Linked DNA regions of Homo sapiens: all the other regions are linked to region 1. Evidence: promoter capture Hi-C in 16 types of primary human blood cells and fetal thymus (Javierre and others, 2016). All regions are on one chromosome and are shown on one strand. Each heading gives the region's core, a stretch centred on a gene start or on the middle of the fragment in contact. The rest is flanking DNA. Distances are from core to core; before and after follow the strand shown. Region 1 holds the start of RARS2 (arginyl-tRNA synthetase 2, mitochondrial). Region 2 overlaps LOC101928911 (a long non-coding RNA gene). Region 3 overlaps LOC101928911 (a long non-coding RNA gene). Region 4 overlaps LOC101928911 (a long non-coding RNA gene). Region 5 has its middle 72 kb from the start of AKIRIN2.

Region 1 (3,153 bases), core at 432-2,931:
GCCCAAATAACTTAATCATTCATTATAAGAACTTCATGAGAAATCTATTAGCTTTTCACGTTTTTTATTTTTATTTTTTGTTTACAGGGTCTCGCTCTGTCACCCACCCTGGAGTGCAGTGGCACAATCATAGCTCACTGTAGCTTCAAACTCGTGGGTCCGTCCAAGTGATCCTCCAGACTCAGCCTTTCAAGCAGCTAGGACTACAGAGGTGCACCATCATGCCTGGCTACTTTTTAAAAAAAATTTTGTTGAGACGGGGTCTACCTATGTTGTCCACGCTGGTCTCGAACTCCTGGGCTCAAGCCATCCTCCCACCTTGGCCTCCCAAAGTGCTGGGATTATAGGCATGAACCACATGCCAGGCCTATTAGTTCTTCCAATAGAAAACCTCAATAGTTTATGCCTTAAGGCTTCTTGCACTCTTTGCTTTTCCTATCAATCTTAAACCGCTGTATCAGATCAGAGTCCAACCCTAATCAAGCCATCTTCCTCCAACACCCTCCTACCCTCTCCCTCTGAAAGACCAGCCTTAAGCCATACCCATCAGTAAAATCTGACCTTGCTTTCCCAGTTTAATACACTACCAAAGCTCTCAGTGGTGTTCTTCCTTATCCCAGTGAGCAATAAATTCAGCTGTCTTAACAAAATGTCATGTTGGTGATATTTGGCGAATTATCACCGGACAGGGCAGTACATCTATAAACATAAAGACAAGGCAGAGGGATTTCCCCACAAATGTCTAGAAATACTGTAAAAATGAGCCAAGATAAATTATACACCAGGCTAATTACGTCCACTAGTACATCCATTAATCAGAAGGAAATGGGTTAGCCAAGACCACAATAGAAAGTTTCCTTGCAAGGGTGGCCAATGAGTCTTAAAAATTCTTTTTGATTAATTCCACATTTATACTGCAATTTTGCCCAGCGCGGTGGCTCAGGCCTGTAATCCCGGCTCTTAGGGAAGCAGAGGAGGGAGGACAGCTTGAGCCCAGGAGTTTGAGGCCTGCCTGGGCAATACGGCGAGACCCCGTTCTCCACAAAAAGGAAAAACAAAACAAAGCAATTATATTGCAATTTTGTAAGCCCTTCCTCACAACAGAGCTGTTCAAATACGACCCTGAACCAAGAAAAACTGAGTCTCAGATAGCTCTTATATCTTTGGGCGTTACCAAAAACAATTCTAGGGTAGGCTGCCTAAGTGACTGCAAGAGAAATAAGCAGCTTTAAAATGAGGTCCTTCTGAAGAACAATCCAGATCCATCATCAATGTCACTAAAGTGTAAAGAACACTAACTTCTATGGGGTCTAATCATGGTCTAATGACTTGCCGCCACCCAGGTAAAGCATTCATAGCTGTGGGGTGGGAAGGAGAGAAGAAAGCACCAGGTACCTTTCAAAGTTTACTTTTCACCGAGACAAACTGATCCCAGCCGACGCTCCACAGGACTTCTGAAGCTCCACCAGCTCCAGAGAAGGGGGAGGAGGTGGTAGAAACTAACAGGATTCCGTGGGACCCACCCTCCAGCTGACTGAGGACTGGCCCGCAGCGGTGAAAGGCCTTTGGGGTCCCTAGCTCCTCAGGGACTCCTCTGCGCGCTCCGGGATCCATACCTGGCAAGCAATAGCGCGGCGAAAGCCGCACGCCATGTCCACCTCTACGGAAGTGCGCCGCAGTCCGCCAGTTCCGGCCTCGCCCCACCTCCTTATACGACCCGCCTCCCCGCGCCGGAAACCCGCCCCGGAGGGTGATGCCAGCCAATCAAGGAGCCGTGTGGCTCGCCACTAACCTCTGCCCTGCAGCCGCGAGGGCGCGCGGGAAATCCCGAGTGCATCTGGAATACGCAGAGTCAGTAAGACCATGGCTACGTCCTCGATGTCTAAGGTATGTGGTGGCCGATGCGCACTGTGGCTCTACCGCTGCCTCATTCCCCTTTGAAGAAGGGATGAAGCCGAGGTTACGTAGGCATCCCTTCCCTGGCTGGAGAGGAGGGAGGGAGCGGCGTACTGAGCTGAGGCGTCCTTGCTCCAGATCAGTTGAGGCCAACTTTGCTTGGGGAGCGAGGACGCGGATCTGCCTTGTGGTATGGCTAGGAGGATTTTTAAGTTCTGGTTGGTGGAGGTCGGATGTCCTGATGATGTGGCCCAGTCTCTCATTTTTCCATCTCACAAATACTGTGCGCCAAGCACTCCGTTAGGTACCAAGATGCAGTGGTAAACAAAACAGATTCAGTTTCTGCAGTCAAGAAAGTCGGTAAACATAGATAAACTGACGATCACAAATTTTAAGTGTTAGCAAGGAAAAGAGTTCTAGGCAGACAACAGAAGAGTGGGAAGAACCTAATATAGGTTGTCGGGGGTTAGCGGAGGCTTTTTGGAGAAAGTGACCCTTTCGCTGAGACCTGAAAAATGAGTAGAAGTTAGGTTAAGGATTAGGGCGAGGAGGGCAGAGAGAACAGCATGTTTCTTCGGCCCAGAAGATAGAAATAAAATGGCATATTAGAGGAATTTAAAAATCATAATCAGAAAGTAGACAAAGAGTGGGAGCGTCATGAAAAATGAGAATGAAAAAGTAATGTGGATGCGGGTGTGTGTGGTGGGATATCTTATAGACCTCCTCATGTTGGCTACCTAGATGGCAAGAAATTGCAAGACATAGTGTAGTTGGTAAGAAGATAAGCCCTAGAGCTGTATTGTCCAATGTGTTAGTCACTCACCACATGTGGCTATTTAAATTTGAGTTAAAATAAAGTAAGATTAAATAAAAATTCAGTTTCTCCGTTGCACTAACCACATTTCAAGTGCTCAATCATCACATGTGGCTGCAGCTACCATTTTAGATAGTGCAGATATAGGACATTTCTATCATTACAGAAAGTTCTGTTGGACAGCGCTGTTCTGGACCACAAAAAGTAAGACCTTGAGTTCTATTGTAAGTGCAGCGGGAAGCCCCTGAAGTTAAGCTGTCTGAGAAAGCTGAAAAATGCACATGAAGAAGCTACATTCTCCCTATGTTAAAACAATGGATTGATGAAGAAGGCTATGTCATGGATCTGATTTTTTATTTTGATTAAAACGGTTTATGAGAAGCAGTGCTTTTAAAGACTACATCTCAAGGAAAAAGGACAAGCCCTGGGGTTTAAGGTTATGC
Region 2 (3,153 bases), core at 189-2,688, 250 kb after region 1:
ACAACTACTGACTAGCTAATCCTTTCCCCCATTAATTTTGACCACTTGTACTAAGTTCCCATATATACATAGGTCTCTTTCTGTACTTTCTATTCCGTTTCCTTAACCCATTTATCCATCTTTGTGCCAATATCCCACTGTCTTAGTTACTATAGCTTTATAATAAATTTTGTTACCTAGCAGGGAAGAGCTCTTTGCTCAGAATTATCTTGGCTTTTCTTAGACCTCTAATTTTCTGTATAAATTAAAGATTTACCTTGTCACATGAAAAATCTTGCTGGGATTTTGACTGGACTTGAATTATGTTTGTAGATTAATTTGGAGGATAATTATCTTTTCGATACTGGCTCTTTTCATCATGTATCTACCCATCTAGTTTTTTTACACATGTGGTTTTTAAATATTATTTTCTTTTTAAAAGTGAATTAAAGCTAATTAATTTTAAATTATCTATATTGTAGAACTAAAATAAAATTTACTAACACTATATCCTTGCAATTTTGTTAACAAATAAAAATAAAACTTGTTAATTAAGAACAAAACTGAAAACAGAAAAAATTTTTATAAAAAATATAGATATAGGCAATAACAGCCAAACAAAGAATTTTTTTGAATTTTTATCTTACTGAACTTGCTGAATACTTATGAAATTAATTAAAATTTGGAATCACTGGCTAGAAATATACACAATATACACAGGAGTCACTGGAGCCTTCATATCATCAATATCCATCAGGGTTCATACTTCTAATTGTCTTTTTCTTTTGGATTCGGATCCACATAAGTACACATATTATCATTAGTATTATTTTTTTTTTTTTTGAGACGGAATCTCGCTCTGTCGCCCAGGCTGGAGTGCAGTGGCGTGAACTCGGCTCACTGCAAGCTCCGCCTCCCCGGGTTCACGCCATTCTCCTGCCTCAGCTTCCCAAGTAGCTGGGACTACAGGCGCTCGCCACCACGCCCGGCTGATCTGTATTTTTAGTAGAGACTGGGTTTCACCATGTTAGCCAGGACGGTCTTGATTTCCTGACCTCATGATCCGCCCACCTCGGCCACCAAAAGTGCTGGGATTACAGACGTGAGCCACAGCGCCCGGCCTCGTACACATATTATTGGCTGAAATGTCTCTTACTTTTTTTTTTTTTTTTTTTAAATCTATAGGTTTCCCGTCCAGCTTTTCTTTTTTTTCTTTATAATTTATTTGTTAAAGAAACCAGGTTGTTGGCCGGGCGTGGTGTCTCACGCCTGTAATCCCAGCACTTTGGGAGTCCAAGGCGGGAGGATCACGAGGTCAGGAGATCGAGATCATCCTGATTAACACGGTGAAACCCCATCTCTACTGAAAATACAAAAACAAAATTAGCCGGGCGTGGTGGCGGGCGCCTCTAGTCCCAGTTACTCGGGAGGCTGAGGGGGCAGAATGGTGTGAACCCGGGAGGCAGAGGTTGCAGTGACCCAAGATTGCGCCACCGCACTCCAGCCTGGGAGACAGAGCGAGACTCCGTCTCAAAAAAAAAAAAAAAAAAAAAAAAAAAAAAAAAGAAAAAGGAAAAGAAAAAAAAAAAAAAAGAAACCAGGTTGTTTGTCCTGTATAGTTTTCAGCCTGGATTTTGCTGATTGCATCCCAAGCATGTTGTTTACCATGCGCATCTGTCCCCTGTACATCCTGTTAGTTAGTAGTTAAATCAGGAGATTTGACCCAATTCACCTTCAGGTATTTGGGCAAGGCAAGTTTGTAGGTGGCATTGTGTTAGGAGCCCTATAATATCTGCTGTGTCTCTTTGTGACATTATTATTTGTTAGTATAAAATGTCTAGCTCCATTAATTCATTAGGGATTGGAGAATGCTGATATTCTAATTCTATCATTTTTGTTTGTTAGCTAGAATATTTTGTTTGTTAGTTTGATTGATTGTTAGCTAGAATACTTTCATAAAGAGAGATTCATTGTCATCTACTTTCGGTTATCCATTGATACAACTCATATAGGAAAGGGGATACATGCTTGATTTTCTTCCCTTTATTGACCAATTCTCTAAACAAAATTTGGTTCCTTAGCATCCTCCAATAGTGGCAATTTGTTTTCTTCTTTCTTCCCCATAGTATGTTAGTAAACTCATGGATTTAAGAATTTTTAATGTTTCAATGTGTTGCCATTATTATCCTCATTGACACTCAAATTTTCCCTTCTTTGGCCAGTGGGAGCCTCTTCAGGTATATTCCTGGGTCCTTTTGACACTCCAATAGTCTTTGATAACATTATTGCTATCTGTGTTGACAAGATGTTTCAGGACCAATTTCTAACTTTCTGGTCCCAGACCTGGAATCAAACATTTATCCAAAGAGCCCTGGTTCAGTTTAGTGTAAAATTATATTTGGAGATAAAAATATGGTGTTAGGATACTCATTGCTACTGAAGTCATCATTATTTTGGGCAGTTTCAGTGGGCAGAGCTAGGAAATATAGAAAGAAAGCTGGCCATGGTGGCACATGCTTGTAGTCTCAGCTATTCAGGAGGCTGAGGCAGGCAGGTCCCTTGAGCCCAGGAGTTCTGGGCTGAAATGTGATATGCCAATTGGGGGTCCACACTAAATACAGCATTAATATGGTGACCTCCTGGGAGCAGGGGACCACCAACTTGCTTAAGGAGGGGTGAACCGGCCCGGGTTGGAAACGGAGCAGGTCAAAACTCTGGTTCTGTCAGTAGTAAGATTGCCCCTGTGAAGGGCCACTGCACTCCACCCTGGGCAACATAGCAAGAACCCATCTCTAGAAAAAAAAAAAAAAAGGAAGACAGAAAGAGATCAGATCTGAGAGAGAGAAAATTAGGAGCTCGTAATGATATTTCCAATTCAAAATGAGGAAACAGACCTGATCCAACGTCTATACTGTAGATATACATCTATAGTGAAATATCTTTCACTATATTTTTATATTAACCCCTCCTTTTCCATTCCATTGGCATCACAACAACCAGGCCCTTGACATCCTATGCTTGAATAATAAGACAGTTTTCTAACTGGTTTTCTTCTATCTTGACCTCCCTGCCTCCAAGCCATTCTACATTTCATAACTAGATAGACAATCTTAGAATACCTATGTGACCTTGTTGTTTCCCCATTCATAAAAAATCTTTAGTATTTCTTACTGT
Region 3 (3,153 bases), core at 279-2,778, 230 kb after region 1:
GAGCTGATGACTGAGAACCCCAAACTCATAAACTTTACTTTTGGTACCAATTACTGTATTGTTCAAGATTCTTAGTTGTAGGCAACAGAATACACATTGGCTAATAGGGCATGACCTGGAAGTTGCACTACTTATGCTCACATCCCATTTGCCATTACCTAGTCACATGATCACACCTAGTTGCTAGGGATTGTGGGAAACGTGGTCTTTAACTAGATAGCTGTATACACAGATAAAACTTTTATTACTATAGAAAGAGTGAATGAATACTGGGGAGACAATCAATGGTGTTTCTGTTAACTAAGTTGAGGAATGCAAGAAGAGAAATGAGTTAAGTTGGGAGGCTGTGAGGAGGAAGAAAATAAGTTTGGCTTGGGAAGTGTTAAGTTAAAATGCTTGTGGGACATCTAGTATGAGATGTTCAGTAAGATGGTTAGGGAAAAGGAATCTTGCCTAGAGAGAGTTTAGAATAAGCAAAGAAGGCCAATGTTTGAGACTGAAGTGGAGGAAGAGGAGTCTCTGGAAGAAACCAGGAAAGAGCAGAGAAGTTGGAGGAGACTTAGGAGAAGGCAGTGTCTCAGAAGTCTCTTGAGTTCTTAATGAAGCTTAACGAAGTAGACTGTTATTAATTAATTAATTAATTAGTTTATATTTTTGAGATGGAGTTTCACTCTTGTTGACCAGGCTGGAGTACAATGGTGCAATCTTGGCTCACTGCAACCTCTGCCTCCTGGGTTCAAGTGATTCTCCTGCCTCAGCCTCCTGAGTAGCTGGGGTTACAGGCATGTGCTACAATGCCTGGCTAATTTTGTATTTTTAATAGAGACGGGGCTTCACCACATTGGTCAGGCTGGTCTTGAACTCCTGACCTCAGGTGATCTGTCCACCTTGGCCTCCCAAAGTGCTGGGATTATAGGTGTGAGCCACCATGCCAGCCCGATACTGTTATAAAGAATGACATGCTGCCAAGAGGACAAGTGGGAGACTGAGAAGAGGTCATTTGATTTGTACATTGTTTATTCAGAGGAGTGGTGGGGAGCTGAAGACAAATTATAGTGTGCTTAGTTGTGGATAGGAGGTGAAGTGGGGCTGTGAAGGGTAGAGAGGTAGCCAAAATACGGCAGCAGGTCAGTTGAAAGAAAGCTTATTTTGGGCACAGAAACTCTTGATCATGTCTGTAGGCAGATGGCATAGATCTAAGGTAGGAGAGATTAAAATTCAGAGAAGAGAGGGGAAACTATGGCTGTGATATTTGTGGTGTGGATGGGGTGATATAAAGACACAGTGGGATGGGTCATTAAGAGGAGTAGGGCTGCCTCTTCGGGACAAGAAGGAAGATAACAATTGGTAAAGGAGATGTAGATATGTTAAAAACTTGCAAAGAAATTCTACAAGTCTTTCAAGTAATTTCTACTATGACTTGAATTGTGGAGCTTGGTGCTATGCATTTTCAATGTTTATTAAGCACTCAGATATACATGGAGACCTGGGTTTAAGCAGCTCAATTCCCCAGCACAAGCTCCAGCTTTGAGCTAAGTATGATCTTCTGTTTTGAAGCTCTGAAAGATGGATATTTATAAAAGGAGAAGCGAGGGACATCTCAGAACAAATTCCAGTATGTACAAAAGGGCAGAAGCAGCAGCAATGAGTGTTTTTCAGGAGGCATCTTGGTTTATCATACCATAGCAGCTGGCCCTCAAAGGGCTTCGAGTGCCAGGGACTCACTGACCCTGAGACACAGTAAGGAAAAAATGGAGACCCTCCCAACAAATAATCTCAGCAATAGATTAAATTTGTAAAATGGAACTTAAAAATTTTCTGGTGTGGATGGTAAAATAATTATTGGAGGCCATCAGAGAGTTTCTATGACTCACTGTTTAATGATTTCCAGTAGGATCACAAAGGATTTAAAAGTAAGCTTGAAGCTATTGAGAACAAATAGTGTGCCAAGAATATCAGAGTGGTTTGGGTTTTGGACTCTATGAAAACTGTATTGTTAATTTAGAAAAAAATAAACCCACACTGGATTCCTAAGGCTCTGGAAGTCTGTTATTTTCCTAATGTTGTCTTGTCTCAGCAAGATATTTGACATTCAGAAAAATGCTAAGCAGAGAGAGATAGCTGTCTAAAATCTTGTTGACCAGATCATTTCAGAAGAGTTTTGCAGAGTTGAGAAGCAAAAACTTGAGGAGATTTGGGTGAATTGCTGAGTAGACAGCAGTGAGAAAAGCAGAGTAAGGTGTAAGGAAAGGAACAGGAATGGCGGCCCTTTCCCCAAACCCCTGATGCATAGTTGTTTTTTTTTTTTTCAAAAAGGGCCATAATTATTTCCCTCTCTAAATCCATGACCCTTTGCAATGTAGCTGCAGCTACTCCCATGCAAAGATGATGTCTATTTCCTTGACCCCTGAATTTGGCTGAACTTGTGACATGCATTGGCCAATAGAATGCTAGGGAGGTGAACTAAGCCACTTTTGAGCTTAGTCTTCAAGGGGCCTTATGTACTTTTGCTCTTCCTCTTGGAACCATGAGAGGCATTCAAGAACAAGTCTAGGCTAGCCTGCAGGATGATGATGGGTCAGATATCCCTGTAGCCTCTGTTGACCACCTTAGCCTCAGAAATAGAGCCACCTAGCTAGGAAGCAGCATGACGGTAAACCAGTGGAGTCCAACCCAAATTGCTGACCAATCCACAGAACTATGAACTAAATAAATGGCTGTTGTTTTAAGCCACTAGGATTTGGAGTAGTGATTACATACTGAAAGCTAACTAATACACAACTTTGGGCTTGGTAATGTGATGAAGTAGGGGAAGAGTACGGAAGATGAGAGATGGAACTTGGGAAAACATGCCATCATGAATTGTGCTCTGATATAAACATGGAAGCAAAATTAAAATTGACTGCAGCACTGCAGAGCAATTCCTGTAACTGTGTGTCTCCAGGCTTCTCCCTCCTCCACCTTCTTGTATCAGTACACTGTCTTCCTCCAGCACACATAATGAACCGTATATTGTTCAATCAATCTGTCTTTTCAGATGTGTCCCTGTTTGGGTTTGTCTCAGAGATAGTAAAAAAGAAAAAAAAGAAAGAAAGACAAAAGGCTTCTGTTTCAAGCATTCTTTTTTTCTGGATGGTTTTTTGAAGTTTGTGG
Region 4 (3,153 bases), core at 203-2,702, 210 kb after region 1:
AGTTTCGATGAAACATAAGTGGTGCTTGTTTTCATTCCATGTAGCTAGTAAGCAGGGCATGTTCAGGGAAGAATCCCGTTCTTCTACTCATACTCCCTTTTGTCTTCCTCGGCTCCATGCCTCTTGTTTTAGAAATTAATTTATCTATGTAGCTCTGAGGAATAGAAATTAATTTGTTTTAGAAATTAATTTATCTATGTAGCTCTGAGGAATAGATATACATATCCCTCTAATGAGCCTTTGACAGAGGTGCCAATACAGCCCTAAAGGCAACAAGGGAAAACAGAGGACTGAGAAGTGGGAAAAGGAAACATGGAGAAAATGGGTGTCTACAGGTAACACTAATCTATGGTGATAGAGGCGAGATGAGTGGCATCAAATGGGAAGGGACACAAGGGAACGTTTTGGGGGAGTCAGAATATTTTAAATCTTGATCTCGGTGGTGGTTATGCGCATAAATTCATCAAGTGCACACTTAGATCTTTGCACTTTACTAAATGTAAGTTATACATAAAAAATGAAGTCTGCCAGGGAGTTTCGCTTTCACTGGCCATCTGTGCTTTACCATCAACTTCCTCCTTTATACTACAGGTGTTATATATATTCCATATACACATGATTTAAACCCCTCAATTATGATGCTATAATTTTTACTTTCAACAGTGATACGTATTTTAGAGAAAAATAATAAATATTGTTTTTTATATTTACCCATCTAGTTACCATTTGTAAAGAATGTTTTGGGAAATCCAAATTTCCATCTGCTATCATTTCCTGTTAGCCTGAAAAACTTTCTTAAGCATTTCTTGTGGTGCAGACAGCAAACATTGTTAGTTTTCATTTATAAGAAAACGTCTTTATTCTGCCTTCAGTCTTGAAGGATATTTTTACTAGATATAGAATCCTAGCTCTAGGTTTTACCATTTTTCCTTTTGCACCTTAAAAATATTTTACTCTTGGCCGGACACAGTGGCTCACACCTGTAATTCTAGCACTTTGGGAGGCAGAGGCGGGCAGATCACCTGAGGTCAGGTGTTTGAGACCAGCCTGGCCAACACGGTGAAATCCTGTCTCTACTAAAAATACAAAATTAGCTGGGCGTGGTGGTGTGTGCCTGTAATCCCAGCTATTCAGGAGGCTGAGGCAGGAGAATCACTTGAACCTGGGAGGTGGAGGTTGCAGTGAGCCGAGATCAAGCCATTGCACCCCAGGCTGGGTGACAAGAGCGAAACTCTGTCTCAAAAAAAAAAAAATTTTTTTTTTACTCTCTTCTGGCTTCTTTTTTTTTTTTTTCCTAATGAGAAATCAGCTATCATCTGTATTGTTTTCCTGTATATAATGAGTGCTTTACTCTGATGCTTCCAAGATTTTTTTTTTTGTCTTTGGGTTTCAACAGTTTGGGTAAGATGTACATAGGTATAGTTTTCTTTGTATTTATCCTGCTTGGGGTTTACTGAATCTTTAAATGTATGTCCTTTAGCAAGTTTGGTAATCTTCCTCTCATTATTTCTTCAGAAATTTTTTGTGTCCCATTCCTTCTCTTTTCTCTTCCTCTGGGACTATAATTACGTGTATGTTATACATGTTATTCTTTGCTTTCTCACAAGTCCTGGAGGCTCTCCTCTTTTTCAATTTTTTTTCTGTTTTTATTTATATTTTTAATTTATTTCTGAGACAGAGTTTCATTCTTGTTGCCCAGGCTGGAGTCTAGTGGCACAATCTCGGCTGACTGCAACCTCCGCCTCCCGGGTTCAAGCGATTCTCCTGTCTCAGCCTCCAGAGTAGCTGGAATTACAGGCACTCACCACCATGCCCGGCTAATTTTGTATTTTTAGCAGAGACGGGGTTTCACCATGTTGGCCAGGCTGGTCTTGAACTCCTGACCACAGGTGATCTGCCCGCCTCGGCCTCCCAAAGTGTTGGGATTACAGGCATGAGCCACCACCCCCAGACTTTTCTGTTTTTAGATTGGGTAATTCTTTTGATCTATCTTCACATTTACTGACCCTTTCCTTTGTCATTTCCAATTCATTGTTAAGCCCATCAGTGAGTTTTTAAAATTGCAGATATTATATTTTGTAATTCTAGTATTTTCATTTGGTTCTTTTCTATTTCTCTGTTGTGATTTTCTTTCTGCTCATTTGTTATGAGTATATTTCCTTTATATATTTGAGCGTAATTATAATGGCTGTTTTAAAACTTTTGTTTCTTAATTCCAACATATAAATCATCTTAGGAGTCTCCATTGATTGTCATTTTTCTTGTATATGAGTCATATTTTCCCATTTTTTCTTATGTCTTGTAATTTTGGATCATGTTGTGCATATTGTGAATGATATAGAGACTCTGCATTCTCTTATGTTACTCTAAAGAGTATTGATTTTGTGTTTTAGCAGGCAATTAACCTAGTTGATTTCAGTTTCTAAATTCTTTTCCTCTGTGGTGTGGCAACTGAAATCTGTTTAGTTCTTTTAGCTCGAGCTAGATTTCTTGGTATCTATCCAACATATGTATATTTTAGAGGCTGGCCAGAGATTTGGGCAGAGTTTATATGTAGAATTTGAGTCTCCCTTCTGCGGCTATTTCCTTTCCACTATTTCTCCTTTCACTTCTCTGCTGTTATTGCTTTGAATTTTGTCTTCCGATTTCTTAGCTAGCAAGGTTTCTGTGCAAGTTTTAGCCACCTTTTGGTGGGACCAATTGGGAGTACTCTCAGACAAAGAAATAGAAAAAATTGGCAAATATCCAGTGGGTTTTTTGTTTGTTTGTTGGTTTGTTTTTTGTTTTTGTTTTTTTTTTCAGACAGAGTCTCACCCTGTTGCCCAGGCTGGAAGCACAGTGGCATGATCATAGCTCTATGTAATCTTCAACTCCTGGGCTCAAGTGATCCTCCTGCCTCAGCCTCCCAAGTAGCTAGGACTACAGGTACATGCCACCATGCCTGGATAATATTTTTATTTTTATATATTTTTTGGAGAGATGGGGTCTTTCTACGTTTCCCAGGCTGGTCTCAAAATTCTGACCTCAAGCCATCCTAGTGTCTTGGCCTTCCAATGCACTGGGGTTATAAGCACATTGAGCCTGGCCATCCTTCTCTAAATATTGACCACCTCTAGTTTTGCCTGCTTTTAGACACTCTCAAATGGCTTCAGA
Region 5 (3,153 bases), core at 338-2,837, 180 kb after region 1:
TCCCATCCTCTACTCTTCAGTCTCATGGCAGCCTGAGAACTAAGAGCTCACAATCACAATGAAAACCAGCAGTGTGGTAGCCATTGGAGTAGGCAGAACAGAGTTGTAGCGCCTTTAATGCCTCACTCAAAGAAAATTGTCATTATCTGATCCATCTGGTGGTTCTCTGGAAGACCTATTTACAAGACTGTCTGTATTTAACCTAACTTGGGGCTGATTCAGTGTCACTGCAAAAGACCTTTTCCCCCTGAGATGGGTTTTTGTTGAAAATATTTAAACGTGATTGTTTAGCTATTTGGCTGCCTGAGGTAATGGATAACAGCTGGGGCAAACAATAGGTTAAACAAAAAGCTTAAAAGGAAAAACTGAGGAGTGAGATGTTTACAGGGATTTTGAAAAGCCCTGGCATATTTCCGGGGAATTTAGAAGGTCATGTGCATGTGTAGGGCTCTGTGCATGCTAAGAGTTTTAGAGCAAGTAGCTAGGCAGACAGGAGCAGGGCAGGAGTGGGCCTCCCACCCCACCAGGAATGTCAGGCAACCATCAGGTGATGGTCAGATAGTTGTTGAACTGTCTGTCTAAAATAATAATTGGTTGCAGCCAGTGCCAGGGAAAGGCTGGCTCCCAATAGACACAAAACACCTGAAACTGGTGATCAGCAGCTTCCTGATAAGATCTCAGGAGCTGGGCGAGTAGGCTCAAGCATGCGCACTAAGGGGCAAAATGATGAAGTTTAGCTGGTATATGACCTTCCTTTAGGAACACTTGACTGGTAAGGGAAAAATGCCTCAAATAAGCATGTGCACAACTTTAGTAAAGACACTGTGCATGTGGCCCCTCCCAAGTGCTGGCAGGCCACTGCACATGCAGACAGCCCACACTAAGGGAAAAATCAAGGGAGAAGAGACGTAAAACCCCAGAAGCATGCCAACATACAACCCCCAAGTCAAAGGTCAAACAGTGCACTTGGATCTCTGAAGTCTCCTGCTTGTCCTCCTTTTTGTTCCTGCTCTAAAATTTTTAAATAAACGTTCACTCTCGCTCCTGCTCTAAAACTTGCCTTGGTCTGCCTTATATCCCTCAGGTGAATTATTTCGTCTGAGGAGGCAAGAATTGAGGTGCTGCAGATTTGTATGGATTTGCTGCTGCTAACAAGAGCTGTGTGTATGCTCGGGAAAGACCTGAGAAAACCTTAAGCTGTCACCTCTGGCTGCCCTTGAGGCCCTACAGAAAGTGAAGCCTAAGGCAAAGTTGTCAACTGCCTGGCTAAATATTGAAGGCAGCCCCAATATGCACACAGAGCCCTTCAGCAAAGACTGGGAGAAGTATCCATTCCAAAAGTGTAAGAAAATCTCTGTCCAATCACTAGAGGAACACTAAGCTAACTGAGCAGAGACTTACCAGCCATACATAAAAAAGAATACAAATTTTATTTTATTTTATTTTTTTGAGACAGAGTCTCACCCTTTCACCCAGGCTGGAGTGCAGTGGCATGATCTTGGCTCACTGCAACCTCTGCCTCCCAGGTTCAAGTGATTGTCCTGCCTCAGCCGCCCGAGTAGCTAGGACTACAGGTGCCAGCCACCACACCTGGCTAATTTTTTATACTTTTGGTGGAGATGGGGTTTCATCATGTTGGCCAGGCTGGTCTCGAACTGCTGACCTCAGATGATCCACCCGCCTTGGCCTCCCAAAGTGCTGGGATTACAGGTGTGAGGCATCATGCCCGGCCTCAAGAATACAAATATTAAAAAATTAGTTCTTAAAAGTCACTAAACAACAGCAAATAGAAACCAGCAACAACAAATCCTGAGCAGGGCAAAGAATCTAATTTCCAGAGTTACCACATTTTAAATTTATATTTTATTTATTTGTATTTTATATGTCTAGTTTAGTGGTTAACAAATATTTCTAGACTTTCAAATAAAAAGTATGGCCCAAACACAGGAAAAAAAAAGTAGTCAACAGAAATGCTCCCTGAAGAAGCTCAGGCACAGGACTTTAGACTAAAGACTTTAAATCAGCTTTTCTTTTCTTTTTTTTTTGCATCCCTGGGTGGGCATGATCTAAACCACCTACTTTAAAATATGTTCAGAGAACTATAGTAAAGTATGGTAATGATGTCTCACCAAGTATAGAATATCAATAAACAGATAGAGATTATTTAGAAAAAGAACAAAATATAAATTTTGGATGTTAGAAGTATAACTGAAATGAAACTTTCATTAGAAGAGCTCAACAGAAGATCTGAGTAGGTAGAAGAAAGAATCAGCAAATGTGATGATCAGCTGAAATTTTTCTGTTTGATGAACAGAAAGAAAAAGGAATAAAGAAAATGAGCAGAGCCTTAGAAACCTGTAGGACACAATCAAGCATGCCAACATATGCATAATGGGAGTTCCAAAAGGAGAGAAGAGAGAGAACTATGCAAAAGAATACTTGATAAAATAATGTCTGAAAACTTCCCAAATTTGGTGAAGAGTCTGTAGCAGATACAATGACCTAGGAGCCAAAGAGTTTTTATTTATTTCATTTATTTATTTTTTCGAGACAGTGTCTCACTCTGTTGCCCAGGCTGGACTGCAATGGCTCACTGCAACCTCTGCCTCCCAGGTTCAAGCAATTTTCCCACCTCAGCCTCCTGAGTAGCTGGGACTACAGGCACACACCACCACACCTGGCTAATTTTTGTATGTTTAGTAGAGTTGGGGTTTCACAAGTTGGCCAGGCTGGTCTCAAACTCCTGAACTCAAGTAATGCACCTATCTTGGCCCCCACAAAGTGCTGAAATTACAGGTATGAGCCACCATGCCCGGCCATCAGAAAGCTTTTAGTTTGCAAGAACCAGGGTTTGGAAGGACAGACGTGCCCCCTCCATCATTTCTTTCCTTTTTTTTTTTTTTTTTTCTTGAGACGAAGTCTTGCTCTGTCACTCAGGCTGGAGTGAAATGGCACAATCTTGGTTTGCTGCAACCGCCGCCTCCTAGGTTCAAGCAATTCTCCTGTCTCAGCCTCCTGAGTAGCCGGGACTACAGGCACCCACCACCATGCCTGGCTGATTTTTGTATTTTTAGTAGAGACAGGGTTTCACTATGTTGGCCAGGCTGGTCTCGAACTCCTGACCTTAGGTGACCCACCCACCTCGGCCTCCCA

Evidence for each region. The method cuts DNA at HindIII sites, captures the fragments that hold promoters and counts their contacts. A CHiCAGO score of 5 or more calls a contact.
Region 2: a contact is called between a fragment that was not itself captured here and the fragment with the promoter of RARS2 in region 1, in 1 of 17 cell types (neutrophils). The highest score is 5.1, in neutrophils.
Region 3: a fragment that was not itself captured here is called in contact with the fragment with the promoter of RARS2 in region 1 in 1 of 17 cell types (neutrophils); the score reaches 5.6 in neutrophils.
Region 4: a contact is called between a fragment that was not itself captured here and the fragment with the promoter of RARS2 in region 1, in 1 of 17 cell types (neutrophils). The highest score is 5.5, in neutrophils.
Region 5: a fragment that was not itself captured here is called in contact with the fragment with the promoter of RARS2 in region 1 in 1 of 17 cell types (neutrophils); the score reaches 5.2 in neutrophils.

What each region holds. Positions count from the first base shown.
Region 1 is chr6:87,588,306-87,591,458 of GRCh38, forward strand. It overlaps RARS2 (arginyl-tRNA synthetase 2, mitochondrial), which reads right to left and starts at 1,682. Exons shown (of 20, transcript NM_020320.5): 1 at 1,617-1,682. The coding sequence starts at 1,652. ORC3 (origin recognition complex subunit 3) reads left to right here and starts at 1,830. Exons shown (of 20, transcript NM_012381.4): 1 at 1,830-1,887. The coding sequence starts at 1,864. RefSeq lists enhancers at 812-1,773, 1,537-1,766, 3,147-3,153. The HindIII fragment of the contact is 3,839 bases long and covers 1-3,153 here.
Region 2 is chr6:87,843,175-87,846,327 of GRCh38, forward strand. The region is part of intron 2 of LOC101928911 (a long non-coding RNA gene); the gene reads left to right. It also overlaps the pseudogene RN7SL183P. Among named protein-coding and RNA genes, the nearest start is that of AKIRIN2, 140 kb to the left of the region's middle. The HindIII fragment of the contact is 5,348 bases long and covers 1-3,153 here.
Region 3 is chr6:87,815,504-87,818,656 of GRCh38, forward strand. All of the region lies in intron 2 of LOC101928911 (a long non-coding RNA gene), which reads left to right. Among named protein-coding and RNA genes, the nearest start is that of AKIRIN2, 110 kb to the left of the region's middle. The HindIII fragment of the contact is 775 bases long and covers 1,142-1,916 here.
Region 4 is chr6:87,799,311-87,802,463 of GRCh38, forward strand. The region is part of intron 2 of LOC101928911 (a long non-coding RNA gene); the gene reads left to right. Among named protein-coding and RNA genes, the nearest start is that of AKIRIN2, 99 kb to the left of the region's middle. RefSeq lists an enhancer at 554-623. The HindIII fragment of the contact is 4,103 bases long and covers 1-3,153 here.
Region 5 is chr6:87,772,586-87,775,738 of GRCh38, forward strand. No RefSeq gene overlaps it. Among named protein-coding and RNA genes, the nearest start is that of AKIRIN2, 72 kb to the left of the region's middle. The HindIII fragment of the contact is 2,476 bases long and covers 350-2,825 here.